Linked DNA regions of Homo sapiens: region 2 is linked to region 1. The links are contacts of gene promoters, found by promoter capture Hi-C in human tissues and cell types (Jung and others, 2019). All regions are on one chromosome and are shown on one strand. Each heading gives the region's core, a stretch centred on a gene start or on the middle of the fragment in contact. The rest is flanking DNA. Distances are from core to core; before and after follow the strand shown.

Evidence for each region. Contacts are between HindIII fragments. The study calls those that stand out against the background at their distance.
Region 2: a contact is called between a fragment that was not itself captured here and the fragment with the promoter of RASSF4 in region 1, in 1 of the 25 tissues and cell types used here (dorsolateral prefrontal cortex).

Annotation. Positions count from the first base shown.
Region 1 is chr10:44,957,227-44,962,067 of GRCh38, forward strand. It overlaps RASSF4 (Ras association domain family member 4), which reads left to right and starts at 2,576. Exons shown (of 11, transcript NM_032023.4): 1 at 2,576-2,640. TMEM72-AS1 (TMEM72 antisense RNA 1) reads right to left here and starts at 2,463. Exons shown (of 8, transcript NR_033842.1): 1 at 2,366-2,463. RefSeq lists an enhancer at 2,255-2,549 and a silencer at 2,327-2,546. The HindIII fragment of the contact is 12,479 bases long and covers 1-4,841 here.
Region 2 is chr10:43,163,462-43,168,302 of GRCh38, forward strand. CSGALNACT2 (chondroitin sulfate N-acetylgalactosaminyltransferase 2) reads left to right here. Exons shown (of 8, transcript NM_018590.5): 5 at 405-583; 6 at 3,543-3,637. Among named protein-coding and RNA genes, the nearest start is that of CSGALNACT2, 27 kb to the left of the region's middle. The HindIII fragment of the contact is 4,073 bases long and covers 727-4,799 here.

The sequences.
Region 1 (4,841 bases), core at 1,326-3,825:
CACAACTTATATTTACTATTTGTGCTGTACACTGGTATTTTCCCTTGCATTTTTGAAGTACTAGTCACATCATCAACTAAATTAATTTCATGACCCACTATTGGGTTGTAAGTAGAGTATGAAAAATACAAGTGGGCATGAGCCATAACTAGGGGCTGGCATGTTGCTGCTACAGACAAGTGGGTATTTCTCTCTCCTTTCCTTCCCTCCCTCCCTCTCTCTTTCCTCTCTTCCCCATTCCCTCTTTCCTCCCTCCCTCCTTCCTTCCCTCCTTTCCTTCCTTCCTTCCCTCCTTTCCTTCTTTCCTTCCTTCCTTCCGTCCTTCCTTCCTTCCTCCCTCCCTCTTTCCCTTTCTTCCTTCCTTCCTTCCTTTTTGTCCTTTTCCTTCTTTCCTATCTTTCTTTTTTCCAAAGAAGGAAATGGACATTGGCTGGCAACCAACAGTATCTGTAGCCTCCACCATAAGTGAGCTGGAGACCACACCCAGTTCTACTGAACCCTGAAAGAAAAGGTGACCCCTCCTTCTGAGGGGTCTGACAATGGACCCTCCCCTTCTGAGGGGAGGACGCTGACAATGGACACCTGTGTCTGATGTAAAATGCAAGCACTCACAGCCATAAAAGAGAATAAAATCGTGTCCTTTGCAGCAGGATGGATGTGGCTGGATGCCATTATCCTAAGCGAACTAATGCAGAAATAGAAAAGCAAACACCACATGTTCTCGCTTACAAGCAAAAGAGCTAAATATCGGGTTCACCTAGACATAAAGATAAAAACAATAGACACTGGGGACTTCAAAAGTGGGAGGGAGACAGCGGGGCGAGGGGTGAAAAACTTCCTATTGGGTACTATGCTCACCATCTGGGTGACAGGATCAATCCCAAACCTCAGTACCACACAATGTACAATTGTAACAAACCCGCACGTGTATCCCCTAAATTTAAAATAAAAATGGAAATTTTAAAAAATGCAAGCAGTAACACCAACTGCCCAGGAGTGCTGGGGGAATTGCATGGGATCCCCAATGTAAAGCACTAGCATAGTGTCTGAGCCCACAATGGGTGCACAGGACACATGGGGTTGCTGTCCCAAACCCAGTCCTCACTCAGAGCCAGTCATGGCCCTGTGAACAGCATTAATTAGGTCAGAGAGAATGATTCACACTCGAGTTCTGGAGAGCCCAGGGAAACTGTTATGTCACCCTGGTGCTATGTTTACTTCTCCTATCAGGAGTGATTAAATTCTTAGGATCTCATGCTCAGAGGTTGACAGTTATATTGAATTTTACCCACTTTTAAAAAACCTTTGGAAGCACCCGATTATTTGTCTCAGCTTTGATGAGGGCTGTGGAAGAGCAAATGTGTCATGACAAGTCACCAACCACAGGGAGCCTCAGAGCTGTCAAAGGATGGGCCATTCTCCAAAAATTCAAGCAAACGCAGAAACGGGAGGGCCCCTGGACTGGGTATCTTCAGTCCTGTCACTTTTTGCAGGTGGGGGTTCCAACATAAGTCATACAGCAGCCATACAAGCATTAGCACAGCCCCTCTAAGTCGAAGTTCAGGGACCCATGAGACTCAAATCCCAGGCTGATTTTGGTGCATATGGCCACCTGCACTTTCTAGAAGATCCATATCAGATTCTAAAATGGCCATGAGACCCTAAAAATATTAGGAAACGCACACTGAATGAAACTAAAATGATTTATGTTAGGGGTGGGAGAGAACAGGTCCAGAGGTCAGAGCTGGGAATCGTGAGGTAAAGCAGAAATTGCAAATGTTTTCCATCAACCCCATCCCCCACCTTGACACCCCCACACCCCAGAAACACTGAACTGTTCCCAGTTCCCCAAATGGCTTGTGGTTTTCTGTCCTCTCTGCCTCCGTGCTGGCAAATATTCGTCCAGGAGGCAGTGACTGGGAGAGAAAGACTAACTTCTTATTCACCAGATCGGATTTCTTAAACAATAAGGAGTTCTAAGAGGCCATGCCAAGCAAACGGCCAGACTGTACAAAGGTGCCCCTTGAGCAATAAATAGCAAATGCTCTGGGCTTTACTGATAAGCCTCCCCAGACTCCAAGCCCCACCAGGCATGCAGACAAGTGCCTGCAGTGATTGCAGCGCCTGCGCAGCGGCCCTTGTTGGAAGTCCAGGAGTCCGCGCTACCCCGCAAAGTCCCTGGCCGCTGCCCGCACACCGAACCTCTCGGGGCTGAGTCGGGCTGCTTTCTCCTCGCGTCCCGGGGCGCCCTCGGGAACTCGGGAGCGCGCGGCGAGCTGAACAATGGCCTGGGGACACCTGGCAGGTCGCAGGCCCCAAATCTTCCCCGCCGCCCCTAGGCCACCGCCCTGCACCCGGAACCTACCGGCGTTCCCAGAGCGGGGCGGACGGGGCGGTGCCATTGGCCGGTGCGGAGTGAGGGGCGTGCTCGGGGCGGGACGGAGAGACCGGGGCGGCACCTTTGGCCGTGCCGGGCGAGAGGCGGGGAGCGGGGCGGGGCGAGGGGCGAGGGGCGGGGCGAGGGGCGGGCCTGGCCCCGAGCAGCTGAAGCCTGGGGTCAGCAGGCGCTGCGGGCGCAGCTCCGGTGCAAGCGAGGACACGACACATGCAGTGGCTTCTGGACTGCGCGATGACTGGACGGTGAGTGATGAACGAGCAGGAGAGTGCTTGGGCGTCCATGGAGCATCCCCTCCGACCCAGGACTGCCACCAGGCAGGGACGCTGAAGCCTGGGCACTTGTGCCCTTCGGCCGCAGCGCGCAGGGTCCCTCCCCCGCCAGCCTGGCGCATTGCGGGCCTCGGGCTCATTGCTGAGAGGGGGCACTGCGCCTGGCACCTCTGTTAAGCAATTTAGGGGCTACAACCTGAGCAAGACAGATGAGCCCGGCCACTGGCTACACCTTTTTTGTTCACCTTGTCCTTAACCAGTTTCCTAGAAGCACTGATCCTAGAGTTGGGGAGAGAGCCTAGAGGCCTCTGGCACAACTCTGATTTCACTGATGGAAATCGAACGCCAAGATAATAGCAGCAGGGGGGGTCTGTCTCACAATCGCTGTCTGTAGAGGGCTCGCCTTGCTCTGGGCCAAGTGCTTTAACACGATATGCCTCTTACTCCTCACAGCAAGTGAGAGTCCTACTTTCGTTATCCCCTTTTCAGATGTGAAAACTGAGGCTTAAAGAGTTATAAAATTGTCCACCTTTACCGGATGAGTTGGTGATGGAGCCAGGATTTGAACCCAGGGCTTGTTGTGCCCCTGAGTCTCTTGCTCTTCACCCTTAGTCTCCGAAGGTCAGCCTGCCTGCTGCCCTGCTCTTCTGGGCTCCTGACTCCGGTCCCATCCTGCACTTCCCACTTCCAAAACATGCCTCAGTGTTTTCATTAACCTGGCACGGCGGAGGGAGGGAGGCCTCCTCTCACACCAGAATCAGTGCCCAGGCCAGGGCCAGCACTTTCTTAAAACACAGTAAGGACAGCTTCAGGAGCCCCATTTCACATAGGAATTAAATAAGGTCGCACAGCAAATAAGGGCTGGGCTTCTGGAATTTGAACCCAAGCAGGTTAGACTCCAAAGCTATGCTTTGCACTCACAGAGGAGCCCCTCGCTGGCTTTGCTGTAGTTTAACTGCCCACAGTACTAAGGTGTCAATCAGGATTTGTTGCCAGAAACCATTTTTTTTTAAGTTAGAAGTGAATTGGTGAAGTAACAGGTAAATGTAGACCATCCTGCCTTCTGTTCCTCTGTGTGGTTCCTTAGCTACTTCTGCCAGGACAGCAGGTTAGGGGAGAAGACAGGAAGGGAGAGGGTCAGAGGAGAAAGAGGAAGGGAGGGAAGAGGAGAGATGAAACTCATTAAACTTAGGTTAAAAAAATGCTGGCCGGAAATTGTCATGGGCTGTTTCAGCACTTTGTCAGTGTATGTGAAGGCTGTTGTCATTAGTTCTAGCCATAATTCTCTCAGTGTGTAGTGCTGGTGATTTGACAACAAAAAGGTTGATGCTACAGATTAAAGTGTCTGTCTGAAACTCAGGAGATTGGGTTGTATTTCCACCATGAAGCTCCAGTGGGTAGCCTGGAGGTCGAGAACAGAATCAAGGTCCAGGGTCGCCCTGGGTCAGGACCAAGTGGACCATGACAGATAACAAAGAACATGAACGAAACTTGGGTGTGTGTCAGAGTTCAGATTCTGGACGTGCAAAGCCTCAAAGGGGAGACCTAACTAGGGGATCTGCCAGAAAGCCCTCTGCCCTGGGCCCCTGGGGTCTGGGGCCTGGTTTCAGGTGTCAGCTCAGACTCTCTCCTCATTCATGGCCACTCCTGCAGGCAGGCCTCACATTCCCATCTCTGGGGCTCCACAGTCTCTCCAGAGCCCCCAACTCCCAGTGTCAATAAGAATAGTAATGGGAGCCTCTTTTCATTATGGGTGAGCCCAACACAAGGCCCATCTTACAGGTCTCCTCATTCGTCTTCACAGAAGTCATCGAGGATTATAGTTATTTAATTGATGAGGAGCCCAAGGTTCAGAGAGGGAACTGGACTTGCTTAAGGTAACAGAGCCAGGCAGTCACAGAGCAGAGCTTTAAACCCAGAGCCTTGCAAAGGCTAGGTGGTTATTCTCTCACAGAGTATGTTTGGGGAAATTGTTTTAAAATAAAGAAAATCAAATAAGAAGTGGCTGCACTTCCTAAAGCTTCAACAGTTTTCTTATTTTTGTAAAAGAGAAACTTGTAGTTCCCGGGGTCTCCTTTTCTGGCTGTCCCACCTTCTGCCCTAGGATATACTGTTGAGGAAGAGGCCCGGAACCCCCTCCCTTTGCCCTGCCTGACCTTGGGAAGCAGGGGTGG
Region 2 (4,841 bases), core at 1,513-4,012, 1.8 Mb before region 1:
TGATAAGGCGACATGTGTGCAAAGACCTAACGGATGCAAGAGGAGAGTGATCTTTGTGTGTGTTATCCATTTAGAATGCATTATTAACAGACATTACAGCTATTTTTCCATTTGTGTATTTTTCAACTCCCCAAAAGGTGTTTAAGATTCCAAAGGTCAGTGGCCACTTTAACACTTTTGGAGCCTCATACCACCAACATGTGCCTCAAATTGGGCATTTGGTGAATATCTCTCCCTGATGATAATCATACACATGAAGCTGGGATTTTCTTTCCCTTTGTGAATGTAGAACCAATATAATCAAATATTTGAAGTGTAAAACATATTTTGTAAGCTGTGTTGAAGGAAGAAAATTGGTAACTTTAAGTGGGACTTATCATTTGTTGTGTGTGCTTTCCTCATAGTGAGTCTAATTTTCACAATTACACCTTGGTCTCATTGAATGAAGAATTTAATCGTGGACGAGGACTAAATGTGGGTGCCCGAGCTTGGGACAAGGGAGAGGTCTTGATGTTTTTCTGTGATGTTGATATCTATTTCTCAGCCGAATTCCTTAACAGCTGCCGGTTAAATGCTGAGCCAGGTGCGTAAAATGTTGGTAGATGAGCTGACTATAGAATTTAGAACGTTGTCAGCATGTCCTATAGTTTGAATCAAGTGATTTTGAGGGAGAAGTTTTAGTTAAACCCCAGTATTTTTTTAAGTTATATTAGGCATAATTTAACTGGAATACTAAATAGGAAATTGAAAATTTGACCCTTTGAAATTCATATCCTTTGTTCTCTTGGGTCCAACTTCCAGTGACTACATTTGAAGCCAAATATGGAAATGCAGAGGAACAGGGTATCTACAAATTGATGAGGTGGGAGCAGTGCAGGTCAGAAAAAGAGCTAAGCAGATGGTATGGAGATGTGTGTGAGAGTCTGAAGCACTCAGCTTTGGGCATATAGCGTCCACACATGCAAAAATACCCCCATGCATGTGTGCACACACACTCACATGGAAGTCTAGATGCAGATAGTGCTTGGTCTCCAGACTGTGCATTTTGGGATGATTTACTATACTTTGCTTTAAGTTGTAGATATTTTTTGAAAATTAATGAGATAGCCAGGTGCAGGGGCTCACGCCTATAATCTCAGTACTTCGGGAGGCTTAGGCGGGTGGATCATGAGGTCAAGAGATTGAGACCATCCTGGCCAACATGGTGAAATCCCGTCTCTACTAAAAATACAAAAATTAGCTGGGCATGGTGGCGTACGCCTGTAGTCCTAGCTACTCGGGTGGCTGAGGCAGAAGAATTGCTTGAACCTGGGAGGCAAAGGTTGCAGTAAGCCAAGATCATGCCACTGCACTCCAGCCTGGTGACAGAGTGAGACTCCATCTCAAAAAAAAAAAAAAAAATTAATGAGAAGATGACATTTTTTGAAATCAAATTTTAAATGCTTTTTAGTTCATTTAAAAGAATTAAAAGTATTAAAGAGGCTGGGGGTGGTGGCTCATGCCTGTAATCCCAGCACTTTGGGAGGCCGAGGCGGGCGGATCACGAGGTCAAGAGATGGAGACCATCCTGGCTAACACAGTGAAACCCCGTCTCTACTAAAAATACAAAAAAAATTATCCGGTCGTGGTGGTGGGTGCCTGTAGTCCTAGCTCCTCAGGAGACTGAGGCAGGAGAATGGCGTGAGCCCAGGAGGCGGAGCTTGCAGTGAGCTGAGATTGCGCCACTGCACTGCAGCCTGGGCGACAGGGCGACATTCTGTCTCAAAAAAAAAAAGTATTAAAGAATCTCAACAGGATGAGTAAGTTGAGGAAATCTGTTATACAAACATGGTGACTATAGTTAATAACAATGTATTGTATACTTACAAATTGCTAAGCCAGTAGTAGCATTAAAAAATGTTCTTACCACCAAAAAAAAAAAAGGTTAATTATGTGAGGTGATGATATATGTTTATTAGCTTGATTTAGTCATTTCGTAGTGTATGAATGTAGCAAAACATAATGTTGTACACCATTTTTATTAGTCAATTAGAAAAACATTGGGGTGGGGGGGTGCTGCTGAGCACAGTAGCTCACACCTTAATCCCAGCACCTTGGGAGTCTGAGACAGGAGGAGCACTTGAGTGCAGGAGTTCAAGACCAGCCTGGGCAACATAGTGAGTCCTAGTCTTTAAAAATAAAATTTTTGGCCAGGCATGGTGGCTGAATGCTTTTTAGCTCATTTAAAAGAATTAAAAGTATTAAAGAGGCTGGGCGTGGTGGTTCATGCCTGTAATCCCAGCACTTTGGGAGGCCGAGGCAGGCGGATCACCTCAGTCGGGAGTTCGATACCAGCCTGGCCAACATGGTGAAACCCCATCTCTACTAAAAATTAGCCAGGCGTGGTGGCTTGTTCCTGTAATCCCAGCTACTTGCGAGGCTGAGGCAGAAGAATTGCTTGAACCTGGGAGACGGAGGTTGCAATGAGCTGAGATCGCCAGCCTGGGTGACAGAGCAAGACTCCGTCTTAAAAAATAAAAATAAAAATGTTTTAAAGAATCTAATAGCAAATGGGGTTTTTTTAATGTAGAACTATTCATATGCAAATGATTGCCTTCTTATTAATTAGGTTAGAGATAGTTTTCAGGAACTCTTTGAGAACCTAATGAATAAATGAAGGTTAGGTTTATTTTACAGCATGAAATGCAAAATGTGAAAGTTGAAGGAGACGTATTTGCTTAGTTTAAAAGAAATATTTTATATCCAGAAATAGATTTGCCTCTGGAAAATTGAACTCCCCATCCCTAAATGTATTTGAACAAAGGTAGAATGAGCATCTGCTAGGGATCTTGTAATAAAAAGGTTGCCATGTTACTCCCACACTTCCTGACAATCACTGAACACTTCATGTGATCATATCTGATTGAAGCCAGCCATAGCAAGGGTTGCGTCTCCTGAGGGAAGATGGGCTAGTTAGCCTTTATGGTCCTTTTAGATCAGTCAGTTTGAATGCTGATGACAAGGTCTTCTCCAAGGGCTATTATATCAAGTAATTTTAACCCTTGTCTTCCCGACTTTTCCAGATTTTGGTTCAGATTTATTCTATATTTTCATTATTCTCTGCATATCTATTCATTGTACAGTATTCTTTGAATTTACTCTTTCTAATGATTCATTTTTGACAGGTGGATTTAACAGACGTTTCTAAGTTTCATAGTGATTATCAGAGGTTAATCTACGTTTATTACTACTGATTAGATGAAACAATGAGTAATAAATGACTCACGTAATGAATACACATCTCCCCAAAGTCAAAGGGAATAAACGTGAAGCACCCTTTAGTTTGTTTTTTCCTCTGTTCTTTTGCAAGGTTATAGTTAACCTACTGATATGTTACAAAATCATCATATTCATCAAATTAACATGATGTTCTGTAGCCTGAATATTAAAAAATAGATAAAATCATGTATAATAAGACTTTGATAAAACTTAATAGATATTGCAATAAAGAACAGTTCTTCATAACTTCTTTTTATGTTACAAACCTATATTTTAATTTGTAGGTAAGAAGGTGTTTTACCCTGTGGTGTTCAGTCTTTACAATCCTGCCATTGTTTATGCCAACCAGGAAGTGCCACCACCTGTGGAGCAGCAGCTGGTGAGACTTTCACATTTTCAGTTATGAAAGACTCTAAAGATCTTTTCTAGATGTTTGTTGTGTAAGTAGAAAACAAAGTTTCAATAAAAAACTGTATTTCCATGAGCAAAGTGTTAAAGAAAAACTATAGTTATTGTAAGCACATTTCCATAGTTCCTCTTTATACCCCCAATAAGATGCTTTTCACATTTATTGCTTCAGAATTAAGTGTAGGGGGAGCAGAGTTTAGGTCATAAAGGAAAACCTCATGTCCCAGAATGTGGAAATTGTACAGTCATTTCTACCAGCTTATTTTTACTAATACTAAAAATTTGATTTTAAAAACCCTACTAACTAGAAATTAAATCTACTCTGCTAAATAAGAGGGAATAGTATACTCTGGTAAATTACCTGGAAAGTCATAGAATATAAATGCCATATATCAAAACTTACAGTTATTGCCAAAGCTAATTTTATGTAAGTTTTTTAAAATTTTTAAATAAACATTATTTTATAATAATTTAGATTTAGAGAAGTTGCAAAGATAGTACAAAGAGTTCCATACTTCACCCAGTTTCCTCTAATGCTAACATCTTATGTAACCATGGTACATTTGTCAAAGTGAAGAAATTAATATTGGTAAGTTACTGCTAAGTACACTAGGATTACACCAGTTTTTCTACTAATGTCCTTTTTCTGTTTCAGAATCGAGTCGAGAATACCAAATTGCTTTTAACATAATCTTTTATTATTAATACTAAGAAAAAGTAGAAATGATTAAGAAGTCACTTTAAGATGTTTAAAAAAATGAAAAATAACTTCAAGGAAAGTAATAAAGGCAGAAGTTAATAAAACAAAAATAGATTGAGAAATATAGAAGCTTATGTTTATGTACAAAAAATTTAATCATAAAGTAGACAGATTTCAGGTAAAAAGGAAAACATTGGAAATTAGAATATGAAAACATTGAGATAAATCAATTTTATAGGGTAAGTTTTCTAAATTATAAATAAATGAAAGATTTGAGAATTTATAAAATATGAACACAGGCTAAGTTCATGTTAGTATTTTATGAATAAAAGAGGTGCAAGTGGGCCGGGCATGGTGGCTCACGCCTGTAATCCCAGCACTTTGGGAGGTCAAGACGGGTGGATCACAAGGTCAGGAGTTCGAGACCAGCATGGCCAATATGGTGAAACCCCGTCTGTATTAAAAATAAAAAAAT